Linked DNA regions of Homo sapiens: all the other regions are linked to region 7. The links are contacts of gene promoters, found by promoter capture Hi-C in blood cells and fetal thymus (Javierre and others, 2016). All regions are on one chromosome and are shown on one strand. Each heading gives the region's core, a stretch centred on a gene start or on the middle of the fragment in contact. The rest is flanking DNA. Distances are from core to core; before and after follow the strand shown.

Region 1 (2,700 bases), core at 93-2,592, 4.4 Mb after region 7:
GTATGGTGATTCCTCAAAGAGCTAAAAGCAGAACCACCATTGGACGCAGCAATTCCATTACTGGGTTTATACCCAGAAGCATATACATCATTCTACCATAAAGACACATACATGTGAATGTTCACTGCTGCACTATTCACAATAGCAAAGATGTGGAATCAACCTAAATGCCCAACCACAACAGTTTGGATAAAGAAAATGTGGTACATATACACCACAGAATACTATGCAGCCGTAAAAAAGAATGAGTTAATGTCTTTTGTGTGAACACTGAAGGAGCTGGAGGCTATTATCCTAGGCAAACTAATGCAGAAACAGGAAACCAAATACTCCATGTTCTCACTTGTAAGTGGGAGCTAAATGATGAGAACTCATGAACACAAAGAAGGGAATAACAGACACCGGGGTCTACTTGGGGATGGAGGGCGGGAGAAGGGAGAGGAGCAGAAAAGAAGACTACTGGGCACTGGGCTTAGTACCCGGGTGATGAAATCATCCGCACAACAAACCCTTGTGACATGAGTTTACCTATGTAACAAACCTTCAGATGTACCCCAAAACCTAAACTAAAAGTTATTTAAAAAATATTGTTCCACTCCCTCACAGCCTGTATGATTTTCACTGACAGGTTTGTTAGGCAAATTGGAGCTCCTTTATACGTTATTTGCTTCTCTGCTTTCAGGATTCTCTCTGTCCTTGACATTTGAAAGTTTGATCGTAATATGACTTTTGGTAGTCTTATTTAGGTCAGACACCTATTTGGTGTTCTCTGACCTTCCTGTACTTAGATATTTTCCTCTTTATTTAGTTTTGGAAGGTTTTCTGTTATTGTGTATTTAAATAAGCTTTCCACTCTTTCCTCTTGCTCAACTCCCTCTTGAACACCAATAATTCTTGGGTTTAGTCTTTCAAGTTAAATTTCTATTTCTTTTTGGTGATTATTTCTTTATATCCTTTTTCTTTTTTCTCGTCTGTGTATTTTCAAATAGCCTATCTTTGAACTCACTGATTCTTTCCTCTGCTTAAGCCATTCTGCTGCTTCTAATGAATTTTTGATTCAGCAAATGTATTTCCCAGTTCCAAGATTTCTGTCTGTTTGTTTTTATTAGTTCAATCTCATTATTAAATCTCTCTGGTAAATTTCTGAATTGTTTTTCTGTGTTATCCTGGAGATTACTGAGTTTCCCTAAAACTGCTATTTTGAATTCTTGGTCAGAGTGATCACATATCAGCATCTAGTTAGAGTCAGTTGCTGGATCCTGGCTTTGTTCCTTTGGAGAAATGATGGTTCCCTATTTGCTATTGTTTCTTGTGGATATATGTCTATGCCTTTGCATTGAAGGATTTATTATTTATTCTAGTCTTTTTGTCTAAGTTGTTCGGGTTTTTATTGGATATGTTTGCTTAGAGATGCTTTGTAATTTCTCTGTTGATTTTCTTTTTCCTCTGCTTGGTCACTGCTTCTTTTCAGTACTAGATGGTGTCTTACACCCAAGTCTCCCTTGATTCTAGGAAACAATCAGAGTGCTGCCATCTCAAATGAGAGAGGTCACAAAGGAGATACTTAATAGTATTAGAATGGTGCCTGTGCCTAAAGATTCACGCCCAGTGACCTGTGGAACAAACCTTTTACAGTTTGATGCTGCTGAACAGCCACTCTGATTTGCCATCTCTTTGACCAAGTTGCAGAGCAGAGCTTCCTGGGCTAAGAACAGTAGTCCAGCCTCTCCTCTTTGTCTCTAACTGTCTTCCAGGATATTTCTCCCTTTAGGTACTCCCAATGCTTCCTGTGGGTTGAGGCAGGGACAGTTACCCTGCCAAAGAACCTGGGATTATGGAGAAGCTTGTTATCACCTTGATCGCACTTTTTCCAGTATAGAAACTGTGAGTTGGGAAAATTTTCCACATGCTTGGTGTTGGGCAGATGGGAGGATGGATGTCATGAATATGAAGGTCCAATTCTCTTACTGTTTTCTTAGAGTTTTTTCACTTCTCTGTGGCCCCAGGAACATCTCAGCCTCATATTTGAGTTCTGAGATATTGCTGGTGATAATCTTCGTACTGCATATTTGTTTTTGGTATTCTATGGGGAAAAGTAAGGCCAGTTTGCTTCTATGTTGCCATTTTGGAACCAGAAGTCTCCTCCAAAGATTGTTTTTTTCATCAAAATTAGCTCATATGATGGTTCTGCTGTGTCTTAACCTGTGATCCCTAAAAAAAGATCCTGAGACAAAGTCTTAGGTGGAGCACTCTATTTGGGAAGTGATTATCCTAGAGAGCAGGAATGAAAGAAAGTAGAACAAGGTACGAGAAAAATTCAATATGAGAATGATTTTTCAAATTGGTGATTGGTTTTTGATCTCCTGGAATCTTTGAAGGACTCTTATGGAATATATGTCAAAACTATCTGCCTGGGGAAAGAGAGAAGAAGCCATTTATCAATTGGTTTTTATCCTTCACAGGGCATTATCTCCTCCAGTGCTCAGATTGCACACTCATGAGAGGTGAGCAAGCTTCCAAGAACATCCAATGCCGATGCTCCAGAAAAGCCTTTAACAAAAGTCAGAGGTCCATGGTAAGGTACCAGGTGAAAACTCCATCAGATGATATCTGTACAGAGCTAGTCAAATCCTGCATAGACCTGGTTGTCACAGAAGTATATGGAATAAAAGGTGGTACTGTGTCCAATACAGTCCTCCT
Region 2 (2,700 bases), core at 172-2,671, 4.0 Mb after region 7:
GGAGATACTAATTCTCCTTTTCAATAACCTTTTTCTTTAAACCATTTTTCTTTTTCAATAAACATAACTAACATAAGAGTGCTCGTAATCTTTCCTCAGAAATCGAGTTTATATTTTCCATTTATCCCTGCATTAACTAAGGTTTTAAAGGTAATGAATTCAGAATTTATTTGAATAACATAGTTTCAATAGAAGCACTAACAGCAGAAGCCCAGGGGCTTACAGACAACATAACCAGGTTGAACATTTCTCCTATCTTTTCTTCCGATTTATCACAAAATATTTACATATAATTAGTTTGTTGTATGTACATTTAATTATTGTGTCATGTGTTTTTACAGGTAATTTATTTATCTATGCATTAGTTTGCTCGGGCTTCCATGACAAAATATTGCAGACTGGGTGGCTTAACCAACAGGAATTTATAATTCTAGAGGCTGGAAGTCTGAGATGAAGGTGTTGGAAGGGCTGGTTTCTGCTGAGTCCCTCTCCTTGGTTTGCGGATGACTGTGCCGTTGCTGCCTCTTCTCATGGTTTTTCCTCTGTGCACACACACTTCTGATGTCTCTGTGTGTGTCCAAATCTCTTCTTGGGAGAACACCAGTCAGTTTGGTTTAGGGCCCTCCCTAGTAATCTCATTTTAACATAATTATCTCTTTAAAGGCCCTGCCTCTAAATACTGGCACATTCTCAGGTACTGGGGGATTATGGCTTCAACATATGAATTTTCAGGGGACACAATTTAGCCCATCACAGTCTGTATAATTGAAAAGCTATAGCACAGAATATTGAATTGCTATTTGTGTAAAGAAAAAAGGTCCCACTGTAGACATGGAAACAGTTCAAACAAAGGGGGACAGGAGTAGATAGGAGTGGATTAAAAGAAGATATGTTATTTTCTCATGGCAGAGAATATGTTGACTGCCTTAGAAACATAAACAAAATATGAGAAATATTTTATTCTAATACAACAATGAGCAAAACTGTACTTAAGCCAGACGGCTGGAATTAGGGATTCAGGAAATAAGCATTGCAATTATATGTCAATCAAGTGATAAACTTAAAACCCTGCAGTGTCAGTTAAGAAGAAAGATTATTAGATTTATCAAAACACCACAGTGGAATACAGGAAATATAGCCCAAATGACAAAGAGAATATTTGCAGGAACTAAGAATAATCATTTTAAAGGAAAATAGGTTGAAATTAAGTCAAGAATGTTGAACAATGATCATAATAAAAACAACTCTGAAAGCCTGTTAGAAACCTATTGCCTCTGGCTCCTTAGAATATTTAAGAATTTGATGTCCAGAAACAGTCATGGCCCTTTCAGGAATATAATGTCGGTTTATAATGAAATTTTCAAAAATTCATAAAAGATTCACAAGTCTAAAAAGAACAATGCAGATCCTCAGAGATTCTTACATTTAAATAAATGTAGAACATTTATGTATACTGCAGGACAGAACTTGACATATTATAAAGAATTTTCAAAGAGCAAATAATTAGTTTTGTCTTGAAAAATGTAAGATTTTAAAATGGTATGGTATCTTTAAAAATCTGATAGTTCACCTATAAAAAAATGTTGCTAGAAAAGATTGGTATCAGGGTGGGCACAACTTATAGGCAGGAGAATATTTTCTTATTTCTGGAAAAGAATCAGCATAGAAGGTGCTTTACATATTTCTTTAAATTCAAGATAAATGATACCAAATGTGGAACAGATGCTATTTTGGAGACAGGAATACATATGATATTAACAAAGAGAAATTAAACAGCAAAAGCAATTCATAAATAGTGACACATAAAGATGGGTACTACATTGCAAAATTCAAAGGAGTATGACGTGGAGAAATGAGAACTATAAATTGTCAGCCTCACAGGATTTGAATAGTCTTTTACATATATCAGAAAGAGAATTCAAGTTTTTATGTCATAAAATTCAGGGAACAGTTAGTTTGTTAACTCAGTGGCTTGATTGGGTATAGATACAGTCTTGGAAAATAACTCTCATGACAGTGCAGATTGAGGAGATGCTGGCAGCCAGAAACTATGTTATAGCACAGTGAAGAGTTTATGAGCATCTAAATAGAAAATTGGGCAGAGCCAATGGAGTGGAAGAGATGGATATATCTGACCCGCTAGAGTAGTGAGTGTCATGGTTATGAATGACACTCCAAGATGTGGAACATGGAAGAATTGCAGACAATTTTGTGATTTCTAACTGAGATGCTAAGCAGATGTTGATGCTATTAATCTAGGAAAGCAGGAAATAAATACAAAGTAAAGGGCAAGTCAGATTGCAAGACTGAAGAGAGGAGAAGCAGGAAAAAATATAATATGAAAATACAATATGAGTAAGGATTTGCACATAGTGAGCCTAAAGTTCTAGTTCAAATTGAGATAGAAAAGTCTAGGAGCTAATGAGAAAATGAGTATACTCATTATTACCATTTCCTTTCACACTTCTGATAGGATTATGCTTATCATATACTGTACATTATTTTTCTGATCCTGTTGGCCTTGCTCGTTGATAATCCTCTCATCTATATACCTCATCTCTCGCTTCTCATCTTCAGATAGCAAAAAATAAGTACAAAATACATACACACTTTTAGGTGAGGAAGTGTTTGTCAAATTAAATTAAAGAATTCGGCTTTCACTTTCTCATTGAAAAATACACTTCTATAAATGGAATGGCT
Region 3 (2,700 bases), core at 82-2,581, 3.2 Mb before region 7:
TTAACTGCACCTTCATTTCCAGAAACCTTATCTTTAACAAATCTCTACACTATTCATACTTAGCACAATTTCCAATCATTGAAGACATTTTAGTTTTACCTTACAATCAGTACAAAGCAGCTGTGTTAAATTCATTCCATAAGATCAAAACTATACTGTGTCCTTACCCTCAATATTTAGCTCAAAACAAATGTGGCAGAAGGAGAGTGTTTCTTTGTCTGTTCCCAGTTTACAAACACTGCAAATGTTGTCATCATTCAAATCAATGTTTACAAACTGCTCCTCTTCGTTCATAGTGCCCCTATTAAGAAACAGAAAAGGAAAGTTACACAATTTCATGAACCTGCCTTTGGGGTAGTTCCCTTTACTGGGAACTTCTAGGAAATAAGGATGCTGTTCAGCTCATTTAAAGCAAAAGCTCCATCAAACAAGCATCGCCATACTTGCACTCCAACATTGCACTTTTCCTGTGGAAAGACACAAAGCTAGTAAAACTTAAAGCCAGGCCATAGGTGACACTATGTCCGTGTCTTTTTTGTCCTATAGTTGATTGGGTTAGTGGCACCTGAAGGAAAGAGATTTGCCGGCATTCTAGTCCTCCTCCTTCGTCCCCCAACCTCGAATAATCAGAGGGCTTAGCAGCGAGGCCTTTTCAGCTACCAGGTTCTGTCAACCTAGTTAACGCTGTGAGAAACAGGAAAAACGACCTGCACGGGACACTGCTTTGCTAACTTCATTGGGGGAACCTCAGATGCGCCTCGCGAACTCGGAGTTGCGAAGCTTCGCATCGAACGGAGATCGGCGGCAGCAAAATGCACGTGGGTACCGAATACCCGGGGAGGGCGTCCCGCCGTGTCCGGGGCAACTACACCGAAGGCCGAGCGGCGGCTTCACGGTACCGGCCGGGCACCGCCGGAGGGGCCCAAGCCGGAGCTGGGAGAGCCGCGGCATCCTGGAGCCCGGCGGGCGGGAGAGCCTCGTCCCATCGCTCCGGGATTCCTCCCAGAGGGAAGAAAGCGTCCGAGGGCCACGGCGGCCGGTCCGCCCAGCCTCAGCGTCTCGGGGAGCCGGGTCCTGGCCCGGCCTTCGGCGTTGGGGGCGCGCGGCCGCCCCCAGGGAGTCGCGGACCCAAGTCCGTCTTTCCGTCGGTCTGTCCGTCGGGGCGCCTGGCGCGCAGCAGCGCGAGGGGCCACGGGGCTCGGAACTCGAAGGAGGCGGAACGATGGGACTGGGGGTCGGGGCTCAGGTGGGATGGGAGCAGGGCTGCGGGGTCTTTACCGTCCGGCTCCGCGGGCCACCACCGCCGTTCCGTGCGGCTCGGGTTCCTCCACTATTGTTTCCGGCCGCAGCAGAGGCGGCCGCCGCGCGCCTGGCCCCGCCCTCTCCCGCCGGCTCCATCCCGTAAAGGCTGCGGGGAGGGTGGCGCGGCCGCGGGCACACCTGCGCGCTCGCCGGGCTGCTGTGGGTCCGCCCCTCCGCTCCTGCACCGACGCCGCACCTTCGCCTCGAGTTCTCCTGTGATCCCGTGTTTCCTGGCCGGAGTTTCTTACCGTTCTCTGGAACGTAGCTCCTCACACACCCCTCCTCGAGGTGCGTAGATAGACGAATCCGTTCCACCTCTCCCTTCAGCCTAGTGCAAACTACTGCCCCGGGGCGGGGGCCGCAGGCGGCGGGGGTAGGAAAGCCGCGGGTGGATGGCAGAACGGGAGAGGTGCGTGGGTGGCACTTTGACTTCAGGAGAAAGAAGCAGAATACTGTCACTGAACTTATAGTTAAGTGCCAGTTGAAGTATCTAACGAAGGAAAAGTTCATATTCAGGTGTCATGATAGAGGCATAATTTCAAATACAGAATCTTTTCAAATACATTATTTGTTGTGGGGCGCCCCTGCCCCCAATATGGTACATCCCTCAACGCCCACGGGAAAAATCCCGAAGCCCCACCTCTTATTTTTAGGTCCTGCTTGGTTCTCAAATTCTTTGCTTGACTTTTGTTTAAGCTATTCTGTTTTTTTTAGGGTATGGTTCTTGCAGTACTTTCACTTACATTTTCCATTGTAGTCCTCACAGTAACCTACAGAGGAGAAACAGGAACTGTTCTCTCATGTTGCAGCCTACGAGTAATTGACCCAGGTTATCACAGTTGGTTAGAAAAAGGCTGGGACTTGAACCGAAGGCTACTGACCTAAGATCAATGTTATTTTCTACAGCATCATATGTATGTGTTCTGGTTGCACTCACATAGAAAGAGGGCTAGCCTGTCAATCTACATGTAGGCATTCTTGAACTGATGGTTAGGAATGGACTGTCTAGATCTTGGAAACTTCTGGGCCAAATTAGCACTCCAGTTATGGCATTTGTGCCTCGCAGGAGCGATCTGTGTCCTTGCCACCTAAATTGTAGTAGATGAACAAACAACATTGACATTACTTGGTTTCCTGTTAGAAATGTAGAATCTCAGGCCCCACTCGAGATTTCCTAAATCAATACTTGCACTTTAACAAGACCGCCAGGAGATTCCTATGTTCATCGAAGTTTGAGATGCACTAATTGAAATGAAAAGCCTGTGCTTTTTCTCTTCGAATTTCTCATTCTAGGTAACTACGACTAAGATACCTTGCATGTTGGATTCTACCCATCTTTTCAATAAAAAGCATTCTTTTAAAAAGGACTCTTTTAAAGTGATTCAATAAAAGTGTTCT
Region 4 (2,700 bases), core at 88-2,587, 4.4 Mb after region 7:
CATATCTTTTCAGTCAACGCAATGCCTAGGTTATATTTTTCTCCTTTAAATCAAGTAGGCCACTTAAAGAGATAATCTGAATATGAATACATTCTACATTATAACACAGAAGAGATAGAGATTAAATGGATTTTTAAAATTTTAGAAACTTGGAATGAATTGATTCCATAATATATATATATCTCCTTCAGAGAATTATTTTACTTTAAAATCTCCAGTGAAAGATATTTGAAAGCCATCTTTGTTTTTATGTATATTTGAAATTTCTGATTGATTTTGCAATGTAATCTTTTAATAGTCTTAGAATATATTCCATTTTTTAAAAATCATTTCTTTTGTTTCTGAATTTAAGATGTATAATCATCTTATAATTGTATAAAATATTCTAAAAAGCATTGCAATCTAATATCTGATTTTACGGAATTAATTTTTTATTCTATACAAACAGAGTCTTAACTAATTTCAGGGAGAATGATCTGTTTGTAATTTAACCTTCAAATTAAAATCCAACTAGCTATAAGCTTTTAGATGCCTGCCTCATAGGGAATGAGATATTTATGAGGGAAGTCTAATGGTTAAGTCCTAAAGTCTTCCCTTGGAAGAAGGATAAAAGGTTTCTAATCATTGAATTTTTAAAAAATCATTAATGAAGGTATTAACTGGACTAAGGCATAAGGGGTAAAGAGTGGCCTTTAATGAGATTTGAAGACTTGTTCTAGAATATATGTTTTGCCAGAATAAAACATGTATCTTCTGATGGGATTTGGAAAGGTAGCTACCAAACCAGGGAAAAGAGTCCATTGGAGAGGGGAGAATGGAAACACTTCTACCTGGCGCATGTAGGGTACAGGTGGGTATGGAAGGCGCGATATGCGAATATAGGGTTTATCCCCAGGCGTCAAGGTACATGAGAGGTGGGAAACAGTGCTCAGCACAAGTGAGTGCCATATACTGTTTATTCTTAACAGGTCAAAAGACAACAAGAATGTATTAGGCAGCAAAGGGGTATTACATCACTCTGAGTAACACCATGTGTGTTAGAGCTGACTATTCTAGGTATATTTGTAGCCACCCTTGGTGTAAAAGATTTTTTTTAATTTATTTATTTAGGTATGGTTCATTGCCCATTTAAACTTAAAGCAAATGTAATTTTTGGCAATCTATTTCCCTAGTTTAAATTTGTCGCTGTTGATTTGGTGAGAGCCACTCACAACATAGATGAAAAGGCATATGGCCAGGCACAGAAAGACAGACACTGCATGATCTCACTGAAATGTAGAACTAAAAAAGTCGAACTTATGGAAGCAGAGATTAGAATGATGGTTACCCAGGGTTGAGGGCAGAGGGGAGAATCGGGCAAAGGATACAATATTTCAGTTACATAGAGGGAATACGTTCAAGAGATCTACTGTACAGCATGATGACTAGTTAAAAACAATGTACTGAATACTTGAAAATAGCAAAGAGAGTGGATTTTAAATTTTCTTACCACAAAAAAAGTTTACTATCAGTATGCTAATTAGCTTGATTTAGCCATTCTACAATGCATACATATTTCAAAACATCATATTTTATACCATAAATACATACAAATTTATTTTCAACTAAAAAAACTAAAATAGCATATGGGTTAACACAAATTATCATTTAAGGCGCTATTTAATTGAAGCAGTTATTTCATCTAGGCTTGAGGCATCACTGTATTCTAAAAATGAATGGTTTCAAGTTCTAGATCCACACACTGCTGGCTTAAATAAAAGTCTACATGGGGACCTTGAGTGTAACAGAAGAGCAGCAGACACAGAGGGCCTGAGGGTAAGATACAGATAGTGGGAGAGAATAAGCAGGCTGGGCCAAGGATTAGCTTTTATCCGTGACCTCCAATTACAACTGATTATCTGCGTTGTGACCACAGAAGAATGAAAATTATTTGCAGTTAGAATCAGGATCCATGAAGTTACACTTTATGTTCATATTTCTGAGTATAACATTAAATATATTTATTGCTCTTTTCTCCTACAAAAGGGGAAGTGACCCCCTTTTTAAGGACCTGCTTAAAAACATACAAAAATCCTGGGCAACTTTCTTGGTGTAGGAATTGCTTTATAGTAGTCGAACAGAAGTGATTATTCCATTGGTAATTCTGCACCCAGACAAGCTTGATATATCTATTGAGGACATATGTAAAGTAAAAAAAAAAAAAAAGTTCTCATATAGTCCTCAAAAATGCTAATTGAAATAAATTTGTACTTTCCTTGGGCTGGATTTATATTAGAACATTTAATTTCAATTAAACAGACAACCTTTAAGTCATGAGATAGCTGAATAGAACCCTCCAGCAATTATTCCCAAACAGGAGCACCAAATTGAAAAACTACTCAAGCAAAAAAGCACCTTCATAAAAGCCAAAATCAGGTGAACGATCACAGTACCTGATTCTGACATCATATCAAGGAAAGAGGCACCGATGGGGTTAGGAAAGGCAGGCCTGCCCTGTATACAGCACTTCTCCCTTACCCTCCAGCAGCAGCAAGTGGAGGGAGAATCTGTGTGCCTGGGGGAGGGAGAACAGAGTGACTGTGGAACTTTGCATTGGAACTCAGGGCTGCCTTGTCACAACGGAACACAACACAAGCCAGTGCTCACTTAGCTGAATTCTGAAGGAAACACCAACCCCAGCCAGAGAGGAACGCTGTGTCC
Region 5 (2,700 bases), core at 190-2,689, 3.5 Mb after region 7:
CTACTTCCTACTTCTTCACTTCAAAGAAAATCAGACAATTTATTTTTTGTGACCAAAAAAAAAAAAAAAAGCCCTGCTCATTATGCTCATGAATATCCATTCCCCTCCCTACCTCAGTAACATAACATAGTATAAGAAATTTATATCCAGCAACTCTACCTTCAGATATCACTTCAAATTGTATTACTTGTACTACCTCGTGGTTACTCTGGAAATGCAATAACTTCAGGAATGACATGTGAACTGTAATGTGGTTCAGAATACTTTCAAAGTGTTTCAGCAGTGTTACAAGTTCTAGACCCCAGCTTCTAGCAGGATATTGTAGAAGAAAACTTGCGTATTTTACCTATGTATGTTTATAGATATTTTCTCAGTTCTTTGCTCACTCTAATTTCTTAAGGTTCTTGTCATCTCTCATGTGGTATTATCATCTTTTTGCCTTTACTTAAACACATGGAAAGAAAGGATTTTGTACACCTTATTTTTAAGGCACTTGTACCACAGTGCATTGTGAAGAAAAACTATTTATGCCATACTCTAATACTGACTGGTTGTTAAATAAATTGTAAGCAAGTAAGTTTTTTTTCCAAGCAGTAAGGTCATCAAAATATTTTACATATTAGCACACATCTTTGAATTTTAACAAACATATATATTTAGATCTCTTGTCAGAACACTCTGAAAACTCCACTAACCCATTATACATGTAAAATTTAGGGCATGTGAAGAACTGAGTAGAATTCAACTAAAATAAATGGTTCACAAAGCAGTCACCAGCTTGCTTCAGCTGATTTAACAAATAGAGCAATCTGATTTATGGCTCAGTTATTTGTTGGCTGTTATTTTGAGAGAAGAGGAGAAAGAAAGAGAATCGCTTGCAGTAGTTTTGACAGCACTGTCTCCAGATATATAGAAATTATCCCCATGGGATAGCCTACTCTTCAGTAGAAACTATTGTGAGTACTCTAATTTTACAGGTAGAAATCTTTCTACTGACAAAAGTTAAATATTGTTCTGTAAACTCTTACAAAATCATCACATGGTCAATAACTAGATTTTTAAGTCTGTAACTTCCATTTTAAACATATATAATTATTTAGATTTCAGTGTTCTATAAATCCTAATGAGAGATGAAGCCAGCTGGACTTCTGGGTTGAGTGGGGACTTGGAGAACTTTTCTATGTCTAGCTAAAGGATTGTAAATGCACCAATCAGCACTCTGTAAAATGGACCAATCAGTAGGATGTGGGTGGGGACAAATAAAGGAATAAAAGCTGGCCACCCCAGGCAGCAGCAGCAACCCATTCAGGTCCCCTTACACGCTGTGGAAGCTTTATTATTTCACACTAAGAGGGGTCAAAATACAACAGATTCTTAATACTAAAACACAACATGTTGCTATCTTTTTTCCTTGGATATGTGATTGTGAATCACTAAGGGGCCTTAACAACTCTAGAAATATGAACATATAGAAAAGTAATGCATAGTTTGAAGGACAATCCAGTACCTTTGAAAACACCAACTACATAGCTTGAGGAAGATTTAAAACAAGCTTGTCCAACCCACGACCCGCAGACCACATGTGGGCTCATGAGGGCTTTGAATGCAGCCCAACACAAATTAGTAAACTTTCTTAAAACATTATGAAAATAGTTTGCATTTTTCTTTTGCTTATCAGCTATTATTAGTGTTAGTGTATTTTATGTGTAGCCCAAGACAATTCTTCTTCTTCCAATGTGGCCCAGGGAAGCCAAAAGATTGGACACCCCTGAAAAGAATGAAGGCTGTAAGAAGACTGCCATTGATGGAAGGCAGACTATCTTACTTAGTAAGAATTGAGGATGTTTGTAAGTGAGGACTGGTAAGGCTACAGGTGACATTTATTTCTTCGTGGTGACTGTACCACCAAGTCCTAATTGAAATGTGGCCATCAGACTGCCCTGCCAAGGAGAACCTGGTAAATCATTATCAGAAAATTATTTCTTTTACTTATGAATGTCTTTAGGCACAGTTGTCTTGGGAGAAAATTAACCTACTGTAAATGGTTTTCTAGAAAACCTTAGAATGTTTCTCATTTAATAAAAAACTGAAATTCAAACATGTGTCTTTGTTACATGCATCAACTACGTGCTATGTTTCTAGAAGAAGCAGTATGGTGACACCTCCTGCACTATTATTCTCTACAGTTTAGCATTTGAGCTAATATTGGACAGTTGAACCTACAGGTTAATCATTCATAAATTTAACAGATCCTTTGTAATTTAAAGTGAAAACTTTGAGTATCTCATAAAGCATACATTACTAACATAATAATTAAACACTATTTACCTCTCTTTTAAATATATAACAATAGCTATTAAATTGCCATATGCATCATAGTCACCTGGGAGAAGTATTAAAATATGGATTGCTGAGCTCCATTGCCAATGCTTCTGATTAATTCAGTAAAAGGGGGTCCCGATAATGTTTTATTTTTAGAAACTCCCAGGTTATGCTGGTGCTACTGGTTGGGGCACAACAAACACTTTGAGAAGGAACCGCTGCTTCATGGCAAACGATTGTATTGGGAGACATTAGAAATTCTGGTTTCTAGAGACATGTTGTTATAAAAATAATGGAGAATACATTGCATTGTATATAAGAAGTGTATTTTATTATCCAAAGCTCTTTAAAATGTCACTGTTGTCAGGATGTAATAAC
Region 6 (2,700 bases), core at 23-2,522, 4.4 Mb after region 7:
TTAGAAGAAATACCTAATGTAGGTGACGGGTTGATGGGTGCTGCAAACCACCATGGCACGTATATACCTATGTAACAAAACTGCACGTTCCGCACATGTACCCCAGAACTTTAAGTATAATAATAAAAAAGACATTTTTTTTCCTCTTTTCTTCTAGATGCTTACACTATCTCTCTTCTTGCCCCGACAACTAAGATTTTTAAGAGTGGCTGCATTCCCTGTAGTCTCTAGCTCACCTCCTATTCACTCCCCACCCCGCTGCAATCTGGTTTTCTCTCACTAAGCCACTAAGGGCTCTTTGTGATGTTACCAGTGAGCTACTTGCTGCTAAACCCAATGGACACTGATTTGTCTTTATCTAATTGATTATTGTGACACAAAAATATAACTAAGGAGGAAGAAGAGAGATTATCTGCCTTGAGCACTTTTTCCATAAGTGAAACATTTAAAGCTTTATTATTGAAGTAATATGTTCACATAACCAAGATAGTTGTCAACACCATGGTGCAAGGAAATAAAAGGAAAGAGTGTAAAAGCTAAATAGCAAGACCCAGAAAGAAGAGAGTGGAGGTATTACTCCTTTTTGAACAGCGAGTTCCCCATTACCTAATAATGGCCACGCAGGACCTGCTGCATTGATAGAGGAACTTGGAATCCTCTTCTTAAACACTGTGTCCCTTGGCTCTCAGGCACCTCTCAGCCCCACATCTTCCCCATGTACCACTTCCATTGCCTGGACCTCTGTTATCCCAGAAAATTTCTATTAGAAATCCTTCTAATTTCTACTCATGTTTCAAGTCTTCACTTCATATCTCCTCATCATAGAGGGCTTCCATGATTCTCCAGGATTAAATTCCCCTTGCTTTAGACAACTTTACAACCTCTTTTGCAATGCTCATCACAGTTGTTACCACTAATGAATTATTCAATAATATTGAATATCTGTCTTGGCTGACTGTGATCTTCAGGAAGACAAATGGAGATCATCTTTCATGTTCACTGATATAGCCCTAGGGCCTAATAGAGTGCCTGGCAAATTATAAATGCTTGATGATTGTTCCCTGCATTGTTGAATTGAATTGTGCTGAATTGAAATTTTCTTAAACCAATATTTCTATCACATTTTAGAAGGTGCATTTGCAATATAGGGAGTGTCTTGATCAGTTTGGGCTACTGTAACAAAATACCATAGACTAGTACTTAAACAACAAACATTCTTGAGGCTGGAAGTCTGAGATCAGGGTCCAATCATTGTGGGATTCTAACAAAGATCCCCTTCTGGGTTGCAGACTTCCAACTCCTCAATGTATCCTCCCATGGTGGAAAGAGAGCAAGAGCTCTCTGTCCTCTTCTTATAAGGGCACTAATCCCATTTGTGAGGGCTCCATCCTCATGACCTAATTACCTCCTGAAGACTCCACCTTCAAATACCATCTGTGTTAGGCCATTCTTGCTTTGCTATAAAGAAATGTCTGAGACTGGATACTTTATAAGGAACAGAGGCTTAATTGGCTTGGAGTTCTACACGCTGTACAGGAAGCATGGCCCTGGCATCTGCTGGGCTTCTGGGGAAGCCTCAGGGAGCTTTTACTCATGGCAGGAGGCAAAGCGGGAGCAGCCTTCTCACATGGCCAGAGCGGGAGCAAGAGTAACAGTGGGGAGTCGGGGAAGGTGCTGCACACTTGTAAACCACCAGATCTCACGTGAACTCAGTGCGAGGGCTCACTTATCATGAAGGGGATGGCCCAAGACATTCCTGAGGGATCCACCTCAATGATCCAAACACCTCTACCAGGCCCCACCTGGCCCCATGTAATTGGGAATTATATTTCAGTATGAGATTTGGGTGGGGACAAATATTCAAACTATATCACCATCACATTGTGGGTTAGATTTTGAAATACAAATGTTAGACACAAACATTCTATCCATAACAGGGAACATTGAAGGAAGGAGATTATTATGATGGTAAATGTCTACAAGTTCTGTCAATAATGAATAGTCTACTGAAGAGATCTTACAGAAGAAAAAAGCATTTAAAGTCTATCATATGTGTTTATTAAAGGGCAAAATATTTCTGTTAGATAGGAGGAATAAGCTTTAGTGATCTATTGCACAGAATGGTGATTATAAAAAACAATTAAAGAGTAGATTTTAAATGTTCCCACCACAAAAAAATAATGAGTATGTGAGGGGATGAATTTGTTAATTAGTTTGATTTAATCATTCCACAATGTAAACAAATATCAAAACATCACATCAAGACCCCATAAATATATAATATATACCAATTATTTATAATATTTGTTAATTAAAAATAAAGTTAAAAAACATTTTAAAGACTGCATAGAGACAATTGAAGAACTTTTTCTAAAGCCTATATATTAGATAATGGTATTATATCAATTTTAAATGTCTTGAGTGTGATCACTGCATTGTGGGTTTGAGGAGAATCTTCTTGTTCTTCTGAGATACTCATTTAAGTATGTAGGAGTGAAGTGTCATGAATAAGGAGTGAAGTGTCATGCAAAGCTAAAGCAACTAATTCTCAAATAATTGAATTTAAAACATGCGCATGTAAAATAGTAAATAAAGCCCATCGTACAGAAGAGATACTGGAAGAGATTTGCTGCATAAGACAAAACTAGAACACAGAGGAAAAGTTCAGCTCCATATAAGGAATGACTTTAACAATCAGAA
Region 7 (2,700 bases), core at 127-2,626:
CCTTGTGGAGGCCGGGGCGAGGCAGTTGAGTTTTCTAAGGAGCCAGAGAGAAAGTGCAGATGAAAGGACCCATCGTCAGCGTTTGCAGGTCGCGGTAACCCCAGGCCAGATTGACATGGGCTCCGCACCCGGGCCGGTGATTCTGCCTCTTAACCGCTCTTGCAGGAGAGGTGACGTTAATCTCACAAACGTTTTCCTACCCTTCTAGGAGAAATAACGATAAGCCCCAATCTTAAGGAGCAGAGAGTTAGTTCCGGGCGTTTGCCACGGCTCCCTCACTTCAATTTACACTCGCACACGCGGGTACGTGGGTGTTCGGGGTAGGGCACTGATCTGGGGAAGGTCTCCCCCCCGCGACCCAACTCATCTTTGCACATTTGCAGTCCTCCCTCGGTGCACTCCTGGCGGGGATCTGGCCAGTGCAGCGCACTGGGACCGAGGGCAGAGCCCGCGGAGTGAGGCCAGGAGAGACTTCAGGCCTCTAAGGACACAGCTGAGGCTAAGGCTGAGTTGAACGCAGCCCCTCCCGCGGCTCGTCCCCTCTCCAGTGTCTCTCCCGTAAGGTGCCGCTCCCAACAGCAATGGGTCGAGATGTAGAGGAAACACTCTGTACGTTATTTTTCCGCCCACCCTTTAGCGCCTGAGGAGACAGACAGTGTAGACTTTAGGGTACAATTGCTTCCCCTCTGTCGCGGCGGGGTGGGGAGCGTGGGAAGGGGACAGCCGCGCAAGGGGCCAGCCTGCTCCAGGTTTGAGCGAGAGAGGGAGAAGGAGGTCCACGGAGAGACAAGAATCTCCCTCCTCCCACGCCCAAAAGGAATAAGCTGCGGGGCACACCGCCCGCCTCCAGATCCCCCATTCACGTTGAGCCGGGGCGCGCTCGGGGCGGTCGCCTGCAGTATCAGTATCAGCATCAGCATCAGCATCAGCATCTGCATGAGCATCAGCTCAGCTCAGCTCAGCTCAGCATCAGCTCAGCTGTCCTGAGGCAGCCGGCGGCTGTGAAGGAGCTCCAGGCTGCCCCCATCCCCACGCCCTTCTCGGCTCAGGGCGTGCATGAACCTGCGGATGGCCGGCGGGCGAGTGGCGCCTTCGCGATCGCGGCCGCCCCTCTAGGCGGAGGCACCGGGGACCGAACCCGTGACTTCGAGCTCCACTGCGGACGAATCCCGGGACCGCGCGCCTCGCGGAAGAGCGGCCGCCGTGCAGCGCGGAGGGATACGCCTCGGCCGCACCTCCCCTCGCCGCGCCCCCGCCCCCGCCGCCCTCCCCGCCCGGCTCTGCTGCCGCCGCGGCGGCCGCTGCTGCTGCTGCTTCTGCCGCCGCTGCCGCCGCCGCTGCCTGGATATAGTGCGGCAAGAGCGGAGCTTGCAGTCACTTTGCGAGGAGGAGCGCGCGGGCTGCGGGCGGCTGGGGCACCGCGGGAGCGGCGGCGGCGGCTCTAGCAGAGGCGGCCGGGGCAGCGAAAGGTTCTCTCTCCAGGGCTGGACTTAATAACTTTGAAACTGTCCACCGGTGTCACGTCCTGAACATGAGCCTCCTCCTCTCCTTCTACCTGCTGGGGTTGCTTGTCAGTAGCGGGCAAGGTAGGAGTGTGGCGCTTTATTGCATTTACTTTCCCTCCCCCTTCCACCCGGCCAAGAGAGGCAAAGAGGGAGGCGCAGGAAGAATGAAATGAAAGAACTAAAGTTACAGTTATTGCTGTTGTTGTTATTATTATTTTCGTTCTTTCTCCTAGCTGTCCCTAAAATTGTATCTGTTGTGTGGAGACCCTTAAATAAGAGAAGGGAAAATACAGAATTGGAGAGGGGAATCGGTGAGCAGGATATCCAGGGAAACCGCTTCTTCTTCTTCTTTTTTTTTCCTCTGGGATTATGGCTTTCTCTTATTTTTATTATCAGAAATTGGATGAGTGTGTTAACAGTGAAATATCTGAGGTTGCGGAAGGAAAGGGCACGATGGTGTTTTACAGAAGCAGCAAAAACTATCAGTGTTAAACTCATTTGCAAAATATCTGCTGTGTGCAAGACGTTCGATTCTTGGAGACTCTTTTTTTTTTCCACCCCTTTCCCAAAACCCTAATTCCTGACTATGAAGTGAATGATGATGGCTTATTTCTGTTGGAAACTAAGAGAGGGGCCGTGGATATTGTGTGTAAGAAAGCAAATGGATAAAACTAGGGATGTGTTGCAGTCATTCATTTTGACCCCAACCCCTTATTAATACAGAAAGGTGGAATCATTTTATAACATTACATTGTAATTACACCTGTAGAGGATTTTTGGGGTTGTGGGAGAACTGGTGGAAGCTTTTATCTCTTAAAAAAAAAAAATGAATAGCCTGGTAGAATAACCTGAGAGGGAATTTGTGGAAGCTATCACTGTTTGTCTCTAGAGAGATAGATATGAATTTATCTGGCTGTTTAGATAGTAAACACTCACATGAAATATATTTACAATAAATGGAAGCATTTTCAACTGTCCAGACAAGTTTGGACGTTTAATTAGGGACACAAAATGCTAAAACATGCATTGGTGAAAGTCTTTAAAGGAAAAATAAAATAGCACTAATTTTGAGATATGTAATGATTGCAAAGAATGTTATGTTGTTAGTGTAGTGTGAAATTGGTTTTTTAAAATAATATAATAAATTACAAGACAAGTTAAAATATCCCCAAGATATTCAGTTCTAAGCATTTTT

The links. The method cuts DNA at HindIII sites, captures the fragments that hold promoters and counts their contacts. A CHiCAGO score of 5 or more calls a contact.
Region 1: a fragment that was not itself captured here is called in contact with the fragment with the promoter of NCAM2 in region 7 in 8 of 17 cell types (endothelial precursors, total B cells, M2 macrophages and 5 more); the score reaches 23.2 in endothelial precursors.
Region 2: a fragment that was not itself captured here is called in contact with the fragment with the promoter of NCAM2 in region 7 in 2 of 17 cell types (naive B cells and total B cells); the score reaches 11.5 in naive B cells.
Region 3: a contact is called between the fragment with the promoter of C21orf91 here and the fragment with the promoter of NCAM2 in region 7, in 2 of 17 cell types (total B cells and M0 macrophages). The highest score is 5.3, in total B cells.
Region 4: a contact is called between a fragment that was not itself captured here and the fragment with the promoter of NCAM2 in region 7, in 2 of 17 cell types (M0 macrophages and naive B cells). The highest score is 7.5, in M0 macrophages.
Region 5: a contact is called between a fragment that was not itself captured here and the fragment with the promoter of NCAM2 in region 7, in 4 of 17 cell types (total B cells, naive B cells, endothelial precursors and 1 more). The highest score is 22.0, in total B cells.
Region 6: a fragment that was not itself captured here is called in contact with the fragment with the promoter of NCAM2 in region 7 in 3 of 17 cell types (total B cells, endothelial precursors and naive B cells); the score reaches 6.9 in total B cells.

The regions. Positions count from the first base shown.
Region 1 is chr21:25,379,046-25,381,745 of GRCh38, forward strand. No RefSeq gene overlaps it. Among named protein-coding and RNA genes, the nearest start is that of LINC00158, 51 kb to the right of the region's middle. The HindIII fragment of the contact is 998 bases long and covers 844-1,841 here.
Region 2 is chr21:25,043,240-25,045,939 of GRCh38, forward strand. The region is part of intron 3 of LINC01692 (long intergenic non-protein coding RNA 1692); the gene reads left to right. Among named protein-coding and RNA genes, the nearest start is that of LINC01692, 200 kb to the left of the region's middle. The HindIII fragment of the contact is 4,295 bases long and covers 1-2,700 here.
Region 3 is chr21:17,818,025-17,820,724 of GRCh38, forward strand. It overlaps C21orf91 (chromosome 21 open reading frame 91), which reads right to left and starts at 1,332. Exons shown (of 5, transcript NM_001100420.2): 1 at 1,279-1,332; 2 at 168-301. The coding sequence starts at 294. The region is part of intron 2 of LOC124900465 (a long non-coding RNA gene); the gene reads left to right. RefSeq lists a silencer at 947-1,726 and an enhancer at 1,977-2,026. The HindIII fragment of the contact is 2,618 bases long and covers 779-2,700 here.
Region 4 is chr21:25,396,785-25,399,484 of GRCh38, forward strand. All of the region lies in intron 4 of LINC00158 (long intergenic non-protein coding RNA 158), which reads right to left. Among named protein-coding and RNA genes, the nearest start is that of LINC00158, 34 kb to the right of the region's middle. The HindIII fragment of the contact is 1,637 bases long and covers 520-2,156 here.
Region 5 is chr21:24,508,432-24,511,131 of GRCh38, forward strand. All of the region lies in intron 1 of LINC01684 (long intergenic non-protein coding RNA 1684), which reads left to right. Among named protein-coding and RNA genes, the nearest start is that of LINC01684, 81 kb to the left of the region's middle. The HindIII fragment of the contact is 221 bases long and covers 1,330-1,550 here.
Region 6 is chr21:25,413,368-25,416,067 of GRCh38, forward strand. The region is part of intron 4 of LINC00158 (long intergenic non-protein coding RNA 158); the gene reads right to left. Among named protein-coding and RNA genes, the nearest start is that of LINC00158, 17 kb to the right of the region's middle. The HindIII fragment of the contact is 1,647 bases long and covers 450-2,096 here.
Region 7 is chr21:20,997,033-20,999,732 of GRCh38, forward strand. It overlaps NCAM2 (neural cell adhesion molecule 2), which reads left to right and starts at 1,377. Exons shown (of 18, transcript NM_004540.5): 1 at 1,377-1,586. The coding sequence starts at 1,532. The HindIII fragment of the contact is 4,236 bases long and covers 1-2,306 here.